3 separate regions of the Homo sapiens genome follow, and regions 1 and 3 are each linked to region 2. The links are contacts of gene promoters, found by promoter capture Hi-C in blood cells and fetal thymus (Javierre and others, 2016). All regions are on one chromosome and are shown on one strand. The core of a region is centred on a gene start or on the middle of the fragment in contact, and the rest is flanking DNA. Distances in the headings are between cores, read along the strand shown. Region 1 holds the start of ZNF148 (zinc finger protein 148). Region 2 holds the start of UMPS (uridine monophosphate synthetase). Region 3 has its middle 5.4 kb from the start of OSBPL11.

The links. Contacts are between HindIII fragments. The CHiCAGO score rates a contact against its expected background, and 5 or more counts as called.
Region 1: a contact is called between the fragment with the promoter of ZNF148 here and the fragment with the promoter of UMPS in region 2, in 1 of 17 cell types (activated CD4 T cells). The highest score is 6.9, in activated CD4 T cells.
Region 3: a contact is called between a fragment that was not itself captured here and the fragment with the promoter of UMPS in region 2, in 1 of 17 cell types (fetal thymus). The highest score is 5.2, in fetal thymus.

What each region holds. Positions count from the first base shown.
Region 1 is chr3:125,373,201-125,377,754 of GRCh38, reverse strand. It overlaps ZNF148 (zinc finger protein 148), which reads left to right and starts at 2,430. Exons shown (of 9, transcript NM_021964.3): 1 at 2,430-2,653. It overlaps LOC105374080 (a long non-coding RNA gene), which reads right to left and starts at 2,329. Exons shown (of 3, transcript XR_924427.3): 1 at 703-2,329. RefSeq lists enhancers at 2,106-2,155, 2,266-2,535 and a silencer at 2,646-2,695. The HindIII fragment of the contact is 7,036 bases long and covers 693-4,554 here.
Region 2 is chr3:124,727,215-124,731,881 of GRCh38, reverse strand. UMPS (uridine monophosphate synthetase) reads right to left here and starts at 1,430. Exons shown (of 6, transcript NM_000373.4): 1 at 1,255-1,430. The coding sequence starts at 1,410. RefSeq lists enhancers at 1,351-1,760, 1,173-1,772. The HindIII fragment of the contact is 5,140 bases long and covers 1-3,127 here.
Region 3 is chr3:125,598,513-125,603,267 of GRCh38, reverse strand. No RefSeq gene overlaps it. Among named protein-coding and RNA genes, the nearest start is that of OSBPL11, 5.4 kb to the right of the region's middle. The HindIII fragment of the contact is 4,730 bases long and covers 301-4,755 here.

The sequences.
Region 1 (4,554 bases), core at 1,181-3,680, 640 kb before region 2:
TGTGAAAGTTGTCACAATCAAAATGGAGTTACTAATGTTAAGAAACCCTGACAAACAGAGCTAGGGAAGGCTGCCTACGAAGAGAGGGTTCTTACATTTGTATACCTGATAACAAAAACTATCAAAAAAAGACTGCAAAACCCACAACCTTGCACAAAGGCCATCACAACCTTACATAAAAAAATACTTCTGCAAGGACATCTCCCCAGCAAATGCCTGTCCAACCTCGGACTGGCGTCACCCTTGTTATTGATCTTTGTAGTCAAGGATAATTATTTCAAAACAATTATGTAATCCTTTCCATTTTTTCCTTTAAACACCTTTGTCTTCCTTTACATCCCTGAATATGCGGTTAACTGTGATGTGTATATTTTCATTGCAATGCTCTATTCCCAAATAAACATTATTTTCTTTTAGAAAGCCTCTCTGTTATTTAGGTTGACACTGATTTTGATGTCTTACTAGAGCTTTGTAAGATGTCACCATTGGGGAAAGCATGGGACTCTGGACTATTTTTGCAACTTCTTGTGAGTCTATAATTATTTCAAAATAAAAAGTTAAAAAAAAAAAAAAGGAAAAGTAAGTAGGCTGAGTACCTACGGGTGGTGTTTAGGGAAGTGAGCAAGAGGAGCATGGAGAGCCAACCTGAAGCTGAGAAGTTTTTCCAGTTTAACTTATAAAGGACCTAAGCTTGCTCCTCACCATCGCTTTTGCTGTTACTATCCCTGTAGTGCTCTTCGTTCTGCCCATTTTAGACAGCTGTTTCTCTATCGCTTGTTAGGCTGCTGAGCAGAGAACTAGATCTATTCCTAATAGCAAACCAATCAATCCTAGCCCATTGGATGTAACCTCCAGGCCTTGAGCCCTTTTCAGTTATTAGTTTTCCCACTGCCTAATACTGAGAGTCGGCTTTCTTGCTGCCAGAGGTGTTTTTCATTATGACGTCTGAATTTGATGCCACTGCGGGTGCTAGAAGTTGCCAGAAGGCTGTCCTCCAGATAACTGTCCCTTGGCTCTAACTTGTGTCATTGTTTTGTTGCAATTAACATTCAGAATATGTGCGGTCATCTTATTAAAATTTATATTTTTTAATGGAGAAAGCACACAGAGAGAGTTGATTGTGGAGCTGTGGTTTACTCTTGCTCTTAGTTACCTGTGTCTAAATTAAGCTGAACCTCTGGGCCTTAGCTATTTCTAAACAGGCATCACGATTTACTAAGGTTAATGCCTGAGGGAACATTAACCTTGCAGACACTAATCTAATTCAGTGTCATCACAAGTGCATAATGCAGGAGTTTGGAATTTTGCCAAAAAGCACTATTCAAATGAACATTTAGTTGGCAAGGGGTGGGAAGGCGGGTGTGGAAAAGGGAAGGAGAACACCAGAAATGGCTCTATAGATATTTTCATGCCTTTTCTTTTCCCTCTCCCCTCAAAGGTTACGTTTAAGTATTGCAGAGAGGCGCTAAATGGAATCTTCATATTATTATGAAGAAATCCCAATGAACGCGTTTTATCCCACGGCAAGTTCCAGATGCTCACAATTACTCAACATTCACTGAGCATCTTTTATGTTATATGGCTGACCTTGTGCTAGGGTGTGTACACAAAGATGAGTAATTGTAAACGATGGCAGTATGCAGAAGCACCTCAGGGCGCCTAATGTTAGCTGACGAAGGCACCATTAAGGAGGTCACAGTTTGGCTAAAGGGCCCCCAAAGGATGAGACAACTGTGTAATCCTAGCTCTATAGAGATCATTACCAAGTCTTTGCCATACAAAGTTTGGGCTTCAGGTGAAATGAGAAGGGCAAGGTTCTGCCCAAGAGGGTCCAGGGCCGGATCTCTTGATCTGTGTCTATGCCCACACCCTGCATCTCAGCTTGCAGACACTAATAGGGTTTGCCAGTTTCAAGGGCGCAGGGCTACATCTTCCGGAAAAGGTGGCATTTGAAGGTGGTAAGAGGCCAACGACTGGAGGTGGCGGCGAAGGGCTAGGTAAGACAGAATAAATGAAAAAGCCAAGACATTTCTGGCAAATAACCTTTCACCTAGGTCCCCGACCCTTCCATTTCCCCAGGCCTGAAACGCTCCCGAATCCCCGAGTCCTCCACTTTCCAAGCGCTGGGCATTGGTTAAGGCTGTAGGAGCAGGGAGTCCCCCGCTCTAAGAGAGTTCCTCAGTTCCGATCTTTTTCAAACCGCTTTCCTCCCAGGCCCAGCCTGGGGGGCCTGCGGCTCGGGTCCAGCTTCCACGGCCACCCTGGGCTGGTGACACGCAGGCGCCGGAATCGAAGCCACGCTGTGTCTTTCCAGCCAGGTCTCTGCGCCAGACGAGGGCGGGCGCCGCGGAGCGCTTCCCGTGTGCGGGGCTTCCCACAATGCACCGGGCCGGCAGTGGCGGCGACCGCGGCGGCGCTCTAGCTGCGGCATGTCTGCGTCTCTACTGCTCTGGGAGGAGGAAGAGAAGGAGGAAGAGGAGGAGGAGGAGGAGGGGGAGGAAGAGGAGAAAGGCGCAGGGGTGGGAGCTGTTGCCGAAGCTGCCACAGCAAAAGTTCTCCCCCCTCCCCCCTTCCCCTCCTCTCAAGGCCCCTAGAAAGGTTGGAGCTGCCGCCGCCTGCAGTCGGTGACCGCGCGACTCGGCGCCCGCCCGCGGTAAAGCGCTCGGCCTGGCAGGCCCGGGCCCGGGGGAGGGCGGGGGAGGGGGAGGGGGCGGCGCGCGGGGGGAGCGCGCGGCGGTAACGGCCTGACCCCGGGGGGAGCGAGCCGTGGCGAGGCTGGGGGTGGCCAGGGGGCCAGCCGAGGCCGAGGGAAACGCTGGGGCTGGCTGGGGGACGTGAGGAAGCAGGGCGCGGAGGGTGGGTTGGGGGGTTGAGGAGGGATAATGACGGGGGTGGCGGAGGCGAGAAGGCGGCCTCCGAGGCTGGAGGCGGGTGTCAGAGGTAGGGGAGGAGGTGGGATGTTTGCACGGGGAGGCCGGAGGGTGCTGGGTGTGGGTGTGAAAAGGCTAGGGAGACACCAGGGCTCTGTCCACCGTGCCTGGTGCAGTGCTTTATGCACCGCAGGCCTCAGTCACTGTTGCTGCCGGAGTGTGCTCTTTGGGAGAAGGGAAGGGCAGGGGTTGGAGAAAAGGGAATGCTTGCAGGAAACGTAGTGGGAGTGCGAACAGGGCGAGGGGCCGGAGGAAAGATGCCGGAGAGGTGGAGGAATGCGGGGAGGTGGCTGTGGAGGAGTCTTGAGGATTCTGGGGGGTGTTCATTGTGCAGATACGTTAGGTATTTCATTATGGAAAGAACTGAAGCGTTTCTCAGGGAAGGAAAGAAGGGAGATAGGAGTTCCCGTGAATAGAAAGGATCGCGTTTGAAGCAAGAGGGAGTGCTAAATAGTAGAGAAGATGCAGGGAATGCATAATAGAATAGACAGATGTAGTATAATTAATAAATATTGGCCTAAGTACTGAAGAGTTATTCCAGATGGGCCGGGATGGCCTAGTTCCGAACCTGTGTGGGCTGTTCAGTAGATGACATCTGGTAAGTGTGGGTCTGGGCCGTGGTTGGGGTCACTGAGAATTAGATTTTAGTCTGTAGTTTGGTCTGTGACATTTTAGACGTGCACCAATGAGTATGAGAACCTCTGAAGCAGACCTTGAGAAAGGGTCTGGCCTGTGGGGATTCCTTAGGCTATGGAGCTTCGATTTTAGAAAATTTGAAGTATTAACACTTACCCGAGGTTGGGTAAATACTATCCTGGCAAACGCTGGAATGGAAATTAATTGACTTGGTGGTTTTCTTCACTGCCCAGTTTATCTGGTCCAGGAGAATTGGTGCCGTATTATTCAGCCTGGATTGCAGTACACAAGATTATAATTAATGGTCGGGGGGAAGACATGCTTGCTGGCTCTTCTTTAGATACTTCATTTGTAGCTCAAATTAGTTGGCTGGATTGGTTCCATAAATCTGTGGCTGGTGGGAGATCTTCTGCCATTCACAGTTCCTGAAGTGAACTGTGAGGGAGTTCTCCAGTGAGAGAATACTCTCATTCAGGCATGATGGCATTGAAGAAAACGTATCAGCCAGCAAAGTGTGGGCCTGCAGAATGGAGGAGCTAGAATATCTGTTTTGGTTTTAGGTTGCAAGGAGGTCAGGACTAGTTATCAGAAGGTCTAGGGGAACCTAGGAGACTGGACGACTCTAGAGCCAGGTTGGAGGGAGGATTAGCATCTCTATGTCAGGAAATGAACCAAGCTCTCTCTGGATTTGCTGAGCTCACACCAGACCAGATTTCCAAGAGGGAACTCTGGGCTAGAACCATACTCTTAAAAACTACCCGGATATTATTCACCTTTTATTAAGAAAAAACTATATACAGCTGGGCGCGGTGGCTCACACCTGTAATCCCAGCACTTTGGGAGGCCGAGGCGAGCGGATCACCTGAGGTCAGGAGTTTAAGATCAGCCTCGCCAACATGGTGAAACCCCATCACTATGTGAAACCCCACCATGCCAGGCTGGTGTCGAACTCCTGGCCTCAAGTGATCCGCCCGCCTTGGCCTCTCAA
Region 2 (4,667 bases), core at 181-2,680:
TCTGAGACAGTCTCCCTCTGTTGCCCAGGCTGGAGTGCAGTGGCTCAATTTCGGCTAACTGCAACCTCCTGATTCTTCTGCCTCAGCCTCCTGAGTAGCTGGGATTACAGGTGTGCACCACCATGCCCAGCTAATTTTTGCATTTTCAGTAGAGACAGGGTTTCACCATGTTGGCCAGGCTGGTCTCGAACTCCAGACCTTAAGTGATCCACCCGCCTCAGCCTCCCAAAGAAAGCCTCCCAAAGTTGGGACTACAGGCATGAGCCCCTGTGCTCACCCGAGGCAAGAAGATCTCTTAAGCCCAGGAGTTCCAGGCTGCAGTGAGCTATGATCACAGAGCTGCACTCCAGCCTGGGTGACGTAAGAGAGATCCCATCTAAAAAATAAATAAATAAAATAATAACACAAGCGATTGATTAGCTATACATTGTTCTTTGTATCACACATTCCAGGTACATTAAGATAATGGGAGAGGCAGCTAGTCAGGGACAAAATTCCTTTAAATAATTGTCCCGGGGCTGCATAGGGGAGTATGGTTGAAGTCTCTCTGGGCTCTGATAAATTTTGTATACATCACAGAGTTCTGGTTGTTCTATTTTCCTTTTCTCACCAGTAATTTCCCAGCTACTGAATTCTCTGCCTACCCACGTTTTCCCGGTCTATTTGTTTGTTTTTTGAGGGCAGGGTCTCACTTGTCGCCCAGGCTGGAGTGCAGTGGCGCAATGACAGCTCATTGCAGCCTTGACCTCCCAGGCTCAGGTGATCCTCCCACCTCAGCGTCCCAGGCGTGCGCCACCACACCCAGCTAATTTTTTGTAGAGACGGGGTCTCGTCATGTTGCCCAGGCTGGTCTCGAACTCCTGGGGCTCAGGTGATCTGCCCACTTAGGCATCCCAAAGTGCTGGTATTACTCTCATGAGGCACCACGCCCGGCCGCAAGTCTAATTTTCTTAAAGAGTTAAATATACAGAATTCATTCAAGTGTGCTTCAGTGCCAGAAAGCGTTCCAAACTGGGTTTCCCGACTTTTGCAAAACACGTGTCTAAGCGTGTGGGTGAAAGAACAGACGACTCTCGAGGAGCCCAACCCCTGGCCTCTGTGCTTCTCATGCTTACTCCCCAAACCAAGAGTAGGGTCGGTCTGCCTGCTTGGCTCTTTTGCTCTCACTCACGGCCCAACTCCTGTCACCCTCTTCCATTTCCTTGTCCTCCTTCCCGCCACCAAGCCCTGTCCTTTCCCTTCCTAGGCCAGCACCTGACTCAGAAGACGCGGTCGAGACACGATGCCCCGCAGATCGATGTAGATGGGGGAGGAAAGCCCGCTCTTCAGCACGAAGTCCCCAAACTTGAAAGCCTGCACGTCGTACAGACCCGTCACCAATGGCCCCAAAGCTGCACGAGCGACCGCCATTGTCGCGCGCTGCCTGTTTGCTTCAAATTCCCAGGCGCCCCGGGCCTCCGGCGCCCCGATGACGTCACCCGCGAAGTCCCGCCTCTTCCGCCTGCCTCGTCTGCAGCTTTCCCGGCTTGCTGCACCCGTGGGTTTCCCCGGGCTCAAGGGTCAGGTGGATGGTAGCGAACCTAGCGCCAGTTTGTGCTTCTCCTGGTTTCTTCTGGATGGGGTCGCTGGGGTTCAAAGCCCAGAACAGCTAGATTGACTGTAGGATCATGAAGTCCCACCTTTCATGAGAGTTTGCATAAATCCTGTCCATTTTTTAATAGCCAATGCCTTCTCGACTAGTTCTCTTAATTATCTCTACTCCTTGGCCTAACATGTTATATTTGCTAGTTATTAGCCAAGATTTACCCCCCATGTTTCTCCAAATAGAATATAAGTTATCAAAGACAGGGACCTTTACTCAATTCTTTTATTAACTTCATAGCATCTAGTACGTGACAGTTCCATAGCAGTTTGCACATAGGAATATATAGCACTTAGATCATTACAGTATTCATTACCTCTTTTGTCTGTACTCTGCTTCCTGGAGGAGTACTTTTTTATTTCCTTTGGCGTACCTCAAATGCTTAGGTAATAGGTGTAGAAAAGGTAAGGGAGGGAAGGAGGAGAGTTAGAAGACGGTTAATTGATTGGTATCAGGGTTATCCAGGAGGATAATATTGCTAGACAATCTGAAAATCCAAACATATTTGGTCTTTACAAATAAATCCCTTAAAGAAATAATCAATAAATAATCTGTACAAATAAATCCCTTCTCCATTGTGTATATAAGGCAATACTTTATTCTAGCTTAAGGAAAATAACCCTTAAATTCACATAAAGAATGAAACCTTGTCATTTGCAGCAAGGTGGATGAACCTGAAGGACATTATGTTAGTGAAACAAGCCAGGAACAGGAAGATAAATACCAAATGTTCTCGCTCATATGCAGAAGCTAAAAAAGTTGATCTCATGGAGCTAGAGAATAAAATAGTAATCACTAGAGGCTGGGAAGGGTAGGGGGTGGTTAAAGGACACAAATTACAGCTAGATAGGAGGAATAAGTCCTAGTGTTCCATTGCACTGTAGGGTGACTGTAGTCAATAATAATTTACTATATATTTTAAAATAGCTAGAAGAGGGGCGTTTGAATGTTCCCAACACAAAGAAAGGATAAATATTTAAGGTGAGGAATATATGAATTACTCTGATTTGATCACTGTACATTGTGTGTATTGAAATAGCACTATGTACCCAATAAATGTGTACGATATCATGTGTCAACTATAACAAATACTTTTTTAAAAAAGAGGAACAGATAAGGCATAGCTGTATAGTGCACTACAAAGAACATGAAGTTTCAAACCAAAACATTTGGATTTTAGTCCCATTCTACTTACTGGCTGAGTGATCTTTGGCAATGCATTTTGAGCTATATGAGTCTCAATTTTCTCAAAAATAGAATGAAGAAGCCGGGCGCGGTGGCTCACGCCTGTAATCCCAGCACTTTGGGAGGCTGAGGCGGGCGGATCACGAGGTCAGGAGATCAAGACCATCTTGGCTAACATGGTGAAACCCCGTCTCTACTAAAAATACAAAAAAATTAGCTGGGCATGGTGGTAGGCGCCTGTAGTCCCAGCTACTCGGGAGGCTGAGGCAGGAGAATGGTGTGAACCCGGGAGGCAAAGCTTGCAGTGAGCCGAGATCGCATCACTGCACTCCAGGCTGGGCGAAAGAGCCAGACTGCGCTCAAAAAAAAAAAAAAAGAATGAAGATAATAATATTAACTTTCTCCAAAAATCACTATGAAGATTCAATAAGATAGTTCACTCAAAAACACTTGATAAAAAGTTGGTAGAGCTGAGTGTGGTGGCTCATGCCTGTAATCCCAGTACTTTGGGAGGCCGAGGGAAGTGGATCACCTGAGGTTGAGAGTTCGAGACCAGCCCAGTCAACATGATGAAACCCCGTCTCTACCAAAAAATACAAAAATTAGCCGGGCATAGTAGCACATGCCTATAGTCCCAGCTACTTGGGAGGCTGAGGCAGGAGAATTGCTTGAACCCCGAGGGGGTGGAGGTTGCAGTGAGCCAAGATCATGCCACTACACTCCAGCCTGGGCAACAGAGACTCTGTCTCAACAACAACAAACAAACAAACAAACAACAACAACAACAAAAAAAAAAGCAGAGGAACATAGATTGTACCAATTCATTTTGTGTTCTCCATTTCATTTACTTAGGCTGGGTAAAGGATCTTGGCTTTAACCAATATTTAGTCTTACTATTTTAGGTATTTACCCTAAAGAGTTTCCATGAATGTAAAATTTCATGCAGTAGTTCAATCTGAGCCTTTTCATGGACCTAGCTCTATATTGCTTACTGAATCCCTTCTGTATTCTACTCTGATATCTATTTTAGACTGAGCTTGTGGGGTTCTGATTATCATTTGTATTAGGGCTTTTGCTAATATTCCATAACTATATTGGTGATTCCTCTGAACCACTCCCCTTCAAAAAAATATAGGCTGAGGTACTGTTATTTAATTATTTATTATTGTTTGACCTACACTATACACACACAGAGACACTGAAACACACACATACACATTTATTTTAAGTTATGTTCTAGGGCCAGGTCAGTGGCTCATGCCTGCAATCCCAGCACTTTGGGAGGCAGAGATGGGAAGCCCAGGAGTTTGAGACCAGCCTGGGTAACATGATGAGACTCTGTCTCTTCAAAAAATAAAAAAAATTAGCCAGACATCATGGCACACACTTGTGGTCCCAGCTACTGGGGAGGCTGAGGCAGGAATATCACTTGAGCCTGGGAGGTTGAGGCCACAGTGAACTGTGATCATGCCACTGCAGTCCAGCCTGAGTGACAGAGTGAGACCCTGTGCCAAAAAAAAAAAAAAAGTTATCTTCCAGTGAATGTCTCAGTGACCTTGAACAATCACCTAGATTCTGTGACTCAGTTTTCTCTAATCCAAGTAAAATAACTTACTTCATAAGAATTTGTTGGGATTAAATGAAATATTAATTACAAATGGGCTTCATAAGCTATATAGGTGCTAAAATACATACAAATTCTAGATAAAAAAAAAGCCCATAAGGGGCTTATGATTTTAACTCATAAACCTGATTCTGATTTCATTTCTAATATTCTTTATTATCTATATTTTCTCAGGAGATTGTGCTGATGAGCCAATGTGAAGAGCCCATGCTTTTG
Region 3 (4,755 bases), core at 1,416-3,915, 870 kb before region 2:
ACTGTGAGCAAAATACTACCTGCACTAGCCAAATGAGTCTAAAAACGGACAAAAAGGACACATAGCTTTAAAATAAATGCGTTCTCATTTTATAATACAGTTTTAAAGGCTCCAGTGAAATACTTTTAAGTTCAATAGGGATTCAAGGGAAAGTTGTGGAGAGAAGCAAACAATGGGAGGGAAGTTTCATTTTATCAAAATCGGAATAAAATAGACTCTTTTTCTCCTTTCCCATCCTTCATTCCTCCTCTCAAATAAAAACACCAACTGTGTCTATTTCTTTCACTCCCACTACAAGCTTTGAGCTTGGCAGGGGAGTGTTTGAAGAGAAATGCTGCTCTCTTGGAGCCCTTTAGCTGAATCACTCCATCAGAGTGGGAAATCACAAAAGGATTTCTGCCTAAACTGCAGGCGAGTGTGGTGGGAGGTAGAGGATCTCTTGATTAATTGAAACTCTGTTTCAGCAAAGTAGTAAAACCTATTATCAATGTGAACACTTTGTCTTCTCAGAATGTCTTTCTTCCTTTTCTTTCTTTTTTTTTTTTTTTTTCTTTTGAGACGGAGTTTTGCTCTTGTTGCCCAGGCTGAAATGCAATGGTGCAATCTTGGCTCACTGCAACCTCCGCCTCCTGGGTTCAAGCGATTCTTCTGCCCCAGCCTCCTGAGTGGCTGGGATTACAGGCATGCGCCACCACGCCTGGCTAATTTTGTATTTTTAGTAGAGACGGGGGTTTCCCCATGTTCGTCAGGCTGGTCTCGAACTCTGGACCTCAGGTGATCCACTCACCTTGGCCTCCCAAAGTGCTGGGATTACAGGTGTGAACCGCAACGCCCGGTCTCGTTTTCTTTTTTTAAGAAATTCTGGGTTCACAACCTTATTCTCAGTGGGAACTTTTTTCCTGGCTGCATTCCTCCCTGTGTTGCCCTCCTCTCATGGGATTAGCACTGTTTCCCGCACCCCTGCTCCCTGCTACCCTGCCCCGAGTTTCTCTGTGGCCTATCCTCCCATTCATTCCAGCTGCGGGTTCTTGTGCTTCAAGGAAACTAATCATACTTCCCTTTCTTGCATGTCAGGGTTAGAGAGAGAAAATAAAAACAGGCAGCATTTGTTCTAGTGCACTAGACATCAGGCACTCTTTTTTTTTTTTTTTTTTTTTTTTTTTTTTTTTTTTTTGAGACAGGGTCTCGCTCTGTCACCCAGGTTAGCTAAAGTGCAATGGCACAGTCTTGGCTCACTGCAACCTCTGACTCAAGCAATCCTCCCTCCTCAGCTTACCTAGTAGCTGGGACTACAGGCACATGCCACCTCACCCAGCTAATTTTTTTTTTTTTTTTTGAGATGGAGTTTCGCTCTGTCACCCAGGCTGGAGTGCAGTGGTGCGATCTCAGCTCACTGCAACCTCCTTCTCCTGGGTTGAAGCAATTCTCATGCCTCAGCCTCCCGAGTAGCTGGGACTACAGGTGCATACCACCATGCCCGGCTAGTTTTTGTATTTGTAGTAGAGATGGAGTTTCACCATGTTGGCCAGGCTGGTCTCAAACTCCTGACTTCAAGTGATCCTCCCTTCTCGGCCTCTCAAAGTGCTGGGATTACAGGTGTGAGCCACCACTCCTGGCCCCATAATTTTTGTATTATTTTGTAGAGATGGGGTTTCACCATGTTGTCAAGTCTGATCTTGAATTTCTAGGCTCAAACAATTACCTGCCTTGGCCTCCCAAAGTGCTGGGATTACAGGTGTGAGCCATCATGCCTGGCCTTCTACACGTTTATTTCATCCTATTTTTCCATTTTACAGATGAAAAAACTGAGGCTTACCAAGGCAAGTAACCTCCCCAGGATCACGTGCACTAAGTGGCAGAGCCAGGATTTGAAGGCTTGTGCCAAAGTTCATGTTCTTAACCACTGTAATAAATTCATCCACTCATTCAACAAATGTGTCAAGCAATGGTCAAGTATTGGGGACACTGTAGTGGGGAAAAAAAAGAACCAAGTCTTTCTTCACAGAGCTTACATTCTAGTAAGGAGACAGACAATGCATAACAAAGCATATAATGTTGGCCAGGCGCAGTGGCTCAGGCCTGTAATCCCAGCCCTTTGGGAAGCCAAGGCGGGTGGATCACCTGAGGTCAGGAGTTCGAGACCAGCCTGGCCAGCATGGCAAAACCTCGCCTCTACTAAAAATACAAAAATTAGCCGGGCATGGTGGCGGGTGCCTGTAATCCCAGCTACTTGGGAGGCTGAGGCAGGAGAATGGCTTGAACCCAGGAGGCAGAGGTTGCAGTGAGGCAAGATCATGCCATCACACTCCAGCCTGGGCAACAGAGGAGACTCCCTCTCAGAAAAAAAAAAAAAAAAAAAAAAAAAAAATGTCAAGTGCTATGAAGAAAACTAAAGCACAGTAAAGGGATAGAGTGTAATGGGTAGGAACTGCTACTCTGTATAGAGTGGTCAGGGAAGGTCTCTAGGAGGAGATGACACTGAAGCAGACATGGCCTTAGGTATCTACATTTTCACACTGACACCCACAAACTGGGTGATTTCAGGTAATGTTCTTAGAATTCTACATTTATTGTACATACTCTGATGGGTCTCTTTTGATTAGAATTCCTAACTTGAAAACTCCATTGCATTTGGGAGACAAAGCTGGCATTCTCCCACAGAAATATGTTGAATGTCTTCAGAAATATGTTGTTTGATGTGTCTTCAGAGATGTCCCTAGCAGAAGGGTGCCCTCACCAAACACCAACATTCGTTTTACTTAGCAGGTAGCCCTACCCTTCTAAACAATGGCTAACAGTTGCTGAACACTTAGCTCATCCTGCGTCAGACCAGAGTCTAAGTGCCTTAAATGACATGAGTCGTTTCATTTAATGCTGACAACCCCTCAAAGAGAGAGACTGGCTTGGCTGCCATAGCAAAATACCATAGACTAGGTGGCTTAAACAACAGCAATTTATTTTTTCACAGTTCTGGCGGCTGATAGTCCAAGGTCAAGATACCAGCATGGTCAGTTTCTGATGGCGGCTCTTTTCCTAGGTTGCAGGTAGCTGTCTTCTCCAAGTGCCCTCACATGGCAGGGGTGGTGAGGGCTGGGGCATGGTACATGCTAGCTTTCTGGTGTCTCTTCTTACAAGGGCACTAATCCAATCATTAGGACCTCATCAAAACGTAAGTGTCTCCCAAAGGCCCTATCTCCAAATACCATTGCATAGAAGTTAGGCCTTCATTGTAGAAATTTGGGGAGTAACACAGTTACTCCTATTTTATAGGTGATGAAACAGGCACAAAGAGGTTAGGTAACTTGCCTAAGGTCACAGGGAGTGGAATCTGCGTGTCAGTCTGATAGAAGAGACCATGATCTTGACCACTATGCATACGCAGCTTCTCTCCATGGGCAGGGCACCCTCATCTCTTACCCAGCTAGACTGGTAGGGAAGGCACAGAGATGAAGTACACATCCTTCTTTGATGGCTTTCAAAAAAGTACATTTCTTTACCTTCCTTATTCAAACAATATGTCCTCCTCTCTCTTTGGATGCTGAATGGAACAGTCAAACTCAGATCCTATTGTAAAACATTTTGGTAAAAAGTTTTGGCTTTAAAACAAAGCAAAACAAAACATCTATCCTACCAACTCCCATGGCCATGACTCCACAAGCATTATAACCTTCTGATAATAATTTAGTTTATCTTGCTGAGTTTCTTACACCAAATGTGCTGACACTCAAACCTGAGTACTCTAGACTGTATTTTTTTTTTTTTTTTTGAGACAGAGTCTTGTTCTGTCATCCAGACTGAAATACACTGGTGTGATCTCAGTTCACTGCAGCCTCAACCTCCCGGGCTCAAGCAGTCCTCCCACCTCAGCCTCCCAAGTAGCTGGGACTGCAGGCATGTGCCACCACACTCAGCTCATTTTTGTTTTTTTACTAGAGACGAGTTTTGCCAGTTGCCCAGTGTGGTCTCAAACTCCTGAGCTCAAATGATCCGCCCTCCTTGGCCTCTCCCGGGTCCAAGCGATTCTCCTGCCTCAGCCTCCCGAGTAGCTGGGATTACAGGCATGAGCCACCACACCTGGATAATTTTGTATTTTTAGTAGAGACAGGGTTTCACCATGTTGGTCAGGCTGGTCTTGAACTCGCGACCTCAGGTGACCCGCCCGCCTCAGCCTCCCAAAGTGCTGGGATTACAGAAGTGAGCCACCACACCTGGCCAGTAATTTCTAATCTTATAGCTAATTTGTTAGTCCTGCAAAGGCAGACTGGTCCCCAGGCTAAAAGAGGGGTCTTTTCGGGAAAGGGCGATTATCAATTTTGTTTCAGAGTAAAACCATGAACTGAATTCCTTCCTAAAGTTAGTTTGGCCTGTGTCCAGGAATGAACAAGGACAGCTTAAAGGCTAGAAGCAAGATGGAGTCAGGTCTGATTTCTTTCACTGTCATAATTTCCTTAGTTATAATTTTGCAAAGGTAGTTTCACTATTGCAAATCCAGTCCATTTGCAGTACTGTAGCCCCATCCCAGACACAGCTTGGATCCATTTACTTCTCTCTATCCCCACTGCCACCACTCTAGTCCAAGCCGCTATGATCTCTGCCCTCATTCCCTATAATATCCTCCTACCTAGTCGCCCCGCTTCCTCTTTTTCTCCCACTAAAATTAATTCTCCATGCAGCTAGAGAATTTGTTTTTTAAAAAATAGCATTATCACAATATAATTCATCCACCATAAATTCACCCATTTAAAGTATACAATC